2 separate regions of the Homo sapiens genome follow, and region 2 is linked to region 1. The links are contacts of gene promoters, found by promoter capture Hi-C in human tissues and cell types (Jung and others, 2019). All regions are on one chromosome and are shown on one strand. The core of a region is centred on a gene start or on the middle of the fragment in contact, and the rest is flanking DNA. Distances in the headings are between cores, read along the strand shown.

Evidence for each region. The method cuts DNA at HindIII sites, captures the fragments that hold promoters and counts their contacts. A contact is called where the count stands out against the background at its distance.
Region 2: a contact is called between a fragment that was not itself captured here and the fragment with the promoter of CLIP3 in region 1, in 1 of the 25 tissues and cell types used here (small bowel).

What each region holds. Positions count from the first base shown.
Region 1 is chr19:36,031,433-36,035,061 of GRCh38, forward strand. It overlaps CLIP3 (CAP-Gly domain containing linker protein 3), which reads right to left and starts at 1,441. Exons shown (of 14, transcript NM_015526.3): 1 at 1,292-1,441; 2 at 760-983. The coding sequence starts at 925. All of the region lies in intron 3 of LOC101927572 (a long non-coding RNA gene), which reads left to right. It overlaps THAP8 (THAP domain containing 8), which reads right to left. Exons shown (of 4, transcript NM_152658.3): 4 at 3,552-3,629. The HindIII fragment of the contact is 12,641 bases long and covers 1-3,629 here.
Region 2 is chr19:37,679,600-37,683,071 of GRCh38, forward strand. It overlaps the pseudogene ZNF781. Among named protein-coding and RNA genes, the nearest start is that of ZFP30, 26 kb to the left of the region's middle. The HindIII fragment of the contact is 6,868 bases long and covers 1-3,472 here.

The DNA of each region.
Region 1 (3,629 bases), core at 191-2,690:
GATCACTTAGGATTAAATCTCCGGCACCCAGCATAAGGCTTGTCACAGAGTAGCAGCACTCGATAAATATCGCTCGGTCAATGATTAGACACTTTCAGTTTCTCCAAGAGGCCGCCCTCTCAGCTCCATACCCTCCTACCTCAGATCCTTTACCCAGCGGTTACCTCTCCTGGGAGCCCTTTCCCCTGACCCTTCTCTTAGTTAACCCCAACTCACCCTCCAGTCTTCTCAACTGTAACCTCCTCAGGGAAACAATGTCTTAAAAAACTCTTGCAGCAGCTTGTTTATGGTAAATACAATTTTCATAATGTCTTGTAATTACATATTTATATTACATTATATTTTTCTTTCTTGCATATAAACCTAAATGTGAAAAATTACATTATGGTTTAATACCTATTTGTGTGGCTGTTACTGAGGCCTGTGAGTTGTCTCAGGGCAAAGACTGGGTCTCTCTTGCCCCCTGCTGTGGCCCCAGCCCCTAGCATAAAGCCAGGTCCACAGCCGCTTTCAAAAAATGATTGTTGAATGACTAAATGATGGAATGATGTGTCATGAGTCAAAGACTAGGAGTATTACAATTCCATTCTCCAATGGGTGAATGAATGAATTAACGAGGGGTGCTCTGCAGCCAAGATTCCTCTGGACCACCTTCAAATTCCCCAGAATTCTCCCACCATCACCACCAGCAGAGCACAGCCCACCCTCCCCGGCCACCCAACGCTCCAGGCCAGATTCCAGGGTGGGGACAGTGGTTACCGTAGTCCTTAGGGAGGGGGGCAGGTGCCGAGGGGTGCACAACAGGCTTCTGCCGGCGCTCCTGGGTGGGGCTGGGGGCCTCGGGGACGGGTTCATCCTCCTCCTCCTCTTCTTCCTCCTCTCCTCGGGGTGGCGGGGCCATCGGGGCAGGATCTGTCTTAGTCATGGTCCTCGGTGGCCCTCGGGGGGCGGGTGCAGAGTTGGGGGCAGCCTTCAGGCAAATCCTGGAGGCAGAGGTCAGCTGGAGAGGGTGCCCGGCAGGCTCCAGGGTCCAAGCCCCTAGGAGCTTCCAGGGCCCCGGGTGGCCTCCGCGCAACTGGATCTTGGGCAACCATAGGGACCCCCGTTACCCATAGAGGGCCCCGGTGTGTGCGCCCAGCGCCTGCCACCTCCCCCAGGCCCAGCCCCCCATTCTTCTCCTCCCGCGTCAGGCCCCTCAGTCGCGGCTGCCCCCTCCCCGGGTTTGTTTATCTCGGGATTCAGGATGCTTCGCCCCTCCCCTTCTCCGCGGGCCGCCCCCTCCCCATCTTACCTCGGGCAGACAGCGCTGGGGACCAAAGTGGAGACTGGGGAGACTGTGGGAGCAATGGGGTGTCGGTGTCAGGGGACGTGATGGGGGAGGCAAGGGAGACAGAGAGAAGGGGACGAGGCCCAGACGCCGACAGGGGGTGGGGGCGGAGAGGGAGGGGCGCGACTGCGCATGCGCCTGCTGCCCCCCTACCGGCGGCGGGGGAGGAGGGACCAGGAGGAGGGACCGGGAGGCGCTCGCATTGATGGAGGGGCCAGAGGCGGCGACTGAAAGGGGAGAGCCTCCGGGCACTGGGAGAGGAAGAGATGGCTACGGAAAGGAGCGAGATGAGCAGATACAACGGCAAAAGAGAGGGCTGAGAGAGCGGACACAGATCTTCTCCATCCCCTTCCCCCACGCCTGCAAACCAGGCCGGTGAGGGCAGTGGTCTTGGGGCGTGGTGACGATGGGGACCCTCTAGGGGACCCTCTCTCTAGGACCCTAGACCGGACCCCTTCTCCAAGCTCACCATTCATAATGGGTGCCTCAGAGGGGTGATTTCCTAGAGACTCCTATCATGATCATCTCATCCTTACCATCATAATGCGAGGCTCACACACTGGGGCCCAGAGGTTAAGCAGCTTGCCCAAAAGTACATGAGTAGGTGATGGAGCGAACATTTGAAACCAGACAGTCTGTAAAGTCTGATTTTTATTTTTATTATTTCCTAGACAGGGTCTCACTCTGTCACCCAGGCTACTGTGCAGTGTTGTGATCTTGGCTCACTGCAGCGTCAAACTTCTGGGCTCAAGCCATCCTCCCACCTCAACCTCCCGAGTAGCCGAGACCACACGTGCATGCCACCATGTCTGGAGAATTTTTTTTGAGACAGGGTTTTGCCATGTTGCCCAGGCTGGTCTTGAACTCCTGACCTCAAGGGATCCTCCTGCCCCTGCCACCCAAAGCGCTGAGATTACAGGCACGAGTCACCATGCCCAGCTTTGATTCTTAATCACCATGCTACATGCCTGTAGCAGTGTCTGGGAAACAGATCTGCCGATTGACCCCTCCAACTCTCTCAGAACCTGTATCTTCCCCACGGAGGCCTCCTGAAGCCAGCCCAGGGTCCTGGCTCCATTGTCATGGCTTGGCTTCCCACCTGGAGCTGTAGCCTGCTCTGCCTCAAATCATCCCAGCCTGGATGGGGCTGGGTGACAGCCTTGAACACCTCATCCTTCTAATGCACAGGTCCAGTAGCTCCATCTCCAAAAGATTTCCAGGATCTCACTCTCCCCACCGCTACCCTGGGCCCTCATCTTGGTCCATCCTTCTTCTTCTGCCACCAGCACTACGGCAGCAGCCTCTTACCTGCTGTCCCCGTCCTCCTCCAACATGCAGCCACAGGGACCCATGAACACCTGTCACTTTGGAGCCCTCTTTCCCTCAGAGGGGTCTGCCTGCTGCACCTCACTCCAGGTAGAAGCCAAGGCTCTCAGCCATGGCCCACAAGGGCCTATGTGAACCTGCCCCATCATCTCTGCACTCACCTCCTCTCACCCTCTTTTGTTCACTCCACCCCAGCCACACTGGCCTCCTTGCTTCTCCCTACCCCAGGACCTTTGCACTGGCTCTTTTTTTTTTTTTTTTTTGAGATGGCAGTCTCACTGTTCCCCAGGCTGGAGTGGAGTGGCATGATCTCTGCTCACTGCAACCTCTGTCTTCCAGGTTCAAGTGATTCTCCTGCCTCAGCCTCCCGAGTAGCTGGGATTACAGGCCTGTGCCACCACACCCAGCTAATTTTTGTATTTTTAGTAGGGACGGGGTTTCGCCATGTTGGCCAGGCTGGTCTCAAACTCCTGACCTTAGGTTATCTGCCTGCCTCAGCTTCCCAAAGTGCTGGGACGACAGGCGTGAGCCACCGTGCCTGGCCTGCAACGGCTCTTTGTGATGCCCGGAATGCTCTTCCTCCAAATCCCTACGTGGCTCCCTCTCTGCCCTGTTTTAGGATCTTACTTGTTGGTGTCTTTTCACCTTCTCTGCTCTAAAACTGCACCCCTTCCTCCCTTCCCTACTATGGTTTTCTCCATAGCAACACCGCCTCCCAGACCTGACACATCCCAGACAGCAGGCCCTCACTGCAGGGGTTGTTCGTCCTCTGGAACCTGAGCCTGTAGCGCTCCAGGCCAGCCCCTTCTGATCACCCAGGTTTCTGCTAAAACATGGCCTTGGAGGGCCCTCCCCCAGGCCCAAACCAAATTTTTGTTGTCTTTATAGCACTCATCGCTCATGTCTGCAGTGTTCTTGTTTATTTGTTTACTAGTTCATCGTCTACTCAAGTAGAATGAGCACCATGAGGGCAGGG
Region 2 (3,472 bases), core at 180-2,679, 1.6 Mb after region 1:
TGAGGCTGATAGTCTCTAAAGTTCTTAGTACAGTTTCTCTTTTCACAAAATAAAATGGAACATTTGAGGGAATCTTCCCAAAATATCTTATTAAAACCTCTATCGTGTAATGAATATGTTAATTAGCTTGATAGTGGCAATGACTTCACAATGTACATTTCTATCAAAAGATTAAATATATAAATATATATTTAAATATATAAAATTTTTATGTGTCAATTATACCTCAGTAAAGATGGGCAGGGAGTACCTCCATCTCAGCGGTCCCCAACATTTTTGGCATCAGGGACTGGTTTCATGAAGACAATTTTTCCACAGAGTAGGGACAGGGTGGTTTCAGGATGATTCAAGTGCATTACATTTATTGTACACTTTATTTGTATTATTATTACATTGTAATATATAATGGAATAATTATACAACTCAGCATAATGTAGAATCAGTGGGAGCCCTGAGCTTGTTTTCTGCAACTAGACAGTCCCATCTGGGGGTGATGAGAGACAGTGACAGATCATCAGGCATTAGATTCTCATAAGGAGCCCACAACCTAGATCCCTCACATGCACAGCTCACAATAGGGTTCACGCTCCTATGAGAATCAAATGCCGCCGCTGATCTGACAGGAGGTGGAGCTCAGGCAGTAATGTGAGTGATAAGGAGCGGTTGTAAATACAGAGAAAGCTTTGCTCACTTGCTTGCCACTCACCTCCTGCTGTGTGGCCTGGTTCCTCACAGGCCAAGGACCAGTACTGGTCTGTGGCCCAGGTTTTGGGGACCCCCGCTCTATCTTAATAAAGAGGATACAAATAAATTTGAAGACTTCCTTGCAGAAGATGCAAATAAATTTGAAGAATTCTAAAACAACAACTACTAAAGAAATTTCAATAGAGAGGTAAGATGCTACTTGAAATCAAGGATTTGAATGGTAGAGTGTAGGGACCAGCCCCACAGGGTCGGTGGGTCTCTCCCTGTGCACGGCGACGAGAGAGTGTAGAAATAAAGACACACGATAAAGAGATAAAAGAAAAGGCAGCTGGGCCCGGGGGACCACTACCACCAATGCGCGGAGACCGGTAGTGGCCCCGAATGTCTGGCTGTGCTGTTATTTATTGGATACAAGGCAGAAGGGGCAGGGTAAAGAATGTGAGTCGCCTCCAATGATAGGTAAGGTCACGTGGGTCACGTGTCCACTGGACAGGGGGCCCTTCCCTGCCTGGCAGCCGAGGCAGAGAGGGAGAGGAGACAGAGAGAAAGACAGCTTACGCCATTATTTCTGCATATCAGGGACTATTAGTATTTTCACTAATTGACTACTGCTATCTAGAAGGCAGAGCCAGGTGTACAGGATGGAACATGAAGGCGGACTAGGAGCGTGACCACTGAAGCACAGCATCACAGGGAGACGGTCAGGCCTCTGGATAACTGCGGGCAAGCCTGACTGATGTCAGGCCCTCCACAAGAGGTGGAGGAGCACAGTCTTCTCTAAACTCCCCCGGGGAAAGGGAGCCTCCCTTTCCCGGTCTGCTAAGTAGCAGGTATTGTTCCTTGACACTTTTCGCTACTGCTAGACCACCGTCCGCTCGGCAACGGGCGTCTTCCCAGACACTGGCGTTACCGCTAGACCAAGGAACCCTTCTGCTGGCCCTGTCCGGGCATAACAGAAGGCTCGCACTCTTCTCTTCTGGTCACACCTCACTATGTCCCCTCAGCTTCTATCTCTGTATGGCCTGGTTTTTCCTAGGTTATGATTGTAGAGCGAGGATTATTATAATATTGGGATAAAGAGTAATTACTAGAAACTAATGATTAATGATATTCATATATCTCTAAGATCTATATCTGGTATAACTATTCTTGTTTTATATTTTATTATACTGGAACAGCTCGTGTCCTCGATCTCTTGCCTCGGCGCCTGGGTGGCTTGCCGCCCACAGTAGAGCAACAAAGAAATATCATTTCCCAGTTATGAGATTAGCAAAATGAGACAACTGGTTACACCCCATATGATTACATGAGAAATAATCTCAGGGCATCCTGCACATAAGATTATATTTAGAAAAATGTATGAGCATGTACAGGCATGCCTTAAACTCAGCAATTATACATCTTAGATTCTATTCAAATGAAGATTTAAATGTGTACAAAGAGGAAACAGTTTAACAAACCATTATTGTATTAATATAATGAAAAACAAGATAATCATAAAACTGATAGCTTTGCCAGGCACGGTGGCTCATGCCTGCAATCTCAGCACTTTGGGAGGCCGAGGCAGGCGGATCACCAAGTCAGGAAATCGAGACCATCCTGGCCAACATGGTGAAACCCCGTCTCTACTAAAAATACAAAAAAAATTAGCTGGGTGTGGTGGCGTGCACCTGTAGTCCCAGCTACTCAGGAGGCTGAGGCAGAAGAATCACTTGAACCCAGGAGGCGGAGGTTGCAGTGAGCCAAGATCATGCCACTGCACTCCAGCCTGGGCAACAGAGTGAGGCCCCATCTCAAAAAAAAAAAAAAAAAAAAAAAGATAGCTTTGGGGTGGGGCGCAGTGACTCACACCTGTAATTCCAGCACTTTGGGAGGCCGAGGTGGGAGGATCACTCGAAACCAGGAATTCATGACCAGCCTGGGCAATGTAGAGAGACCCCCTGTCTCTAAAATATATATATATAAACTAGCCAGGTGTGGTAGCCCACACCTATAGTCCTAACTACTTGGGAGGCTGAAGCAGGAGAATCCTTGAGCCCAGGACATTGAGGCTGCAGTGAGTTATGATTGCACCATTGCACTCCAGCCTGGGAGACAAAGGGAGACCCCATCTCAAATCTCAAAAAAAAAAAAAAAAGTTTCTCCTTAATTTGTAACATGAAAAATCTTTTACCTCAATTTTCTAGTGAACAGAGAGCATTATTAAACGGAATAGTCATTGTCATCCTAGAGTTATCAAACAGAAGAGTGACTGTCAACCACTTTTGGCAGAAAACCCACACGTGTGTGGATATATATAAGATCTGGAAAGATTTTTCGTTGTTGTCGTACTATAGGTAATCTTTACTTTGTGATTTTCCACATTTTCTGAATTTTTGCATTGAGGATATACTATCTTTTACCATCATAAAAAACACCACTAAGCCCAGGCAACATGGTAAAACCCCATCTCTACAAACAATACAAAAATTAGCTGGGCATGATGGTGCGTGCCTATAGTCCCAGCTACACAGGAGGCTGTGGCGGGAGGATGGCTTAAGCCCAGCAGGTCAAGGCTGCAGTGAGCCATAATCGCACCACTGCATTCCAGCCTGGGAGACAGAGTGAGACCCCATTTCCAAAAAAGAAGAGTCAACAAGTTTTAAAAAATCAAGAAGTTCATAAAGTAAAAAAAGTTACAGTAAGCTAAAGTTAATTTATTATTGAAGAAAAAAATTTTCACATATTTAGTGTAGCCTAAGTATACAGTGTTTCTAGTCTATAGTGG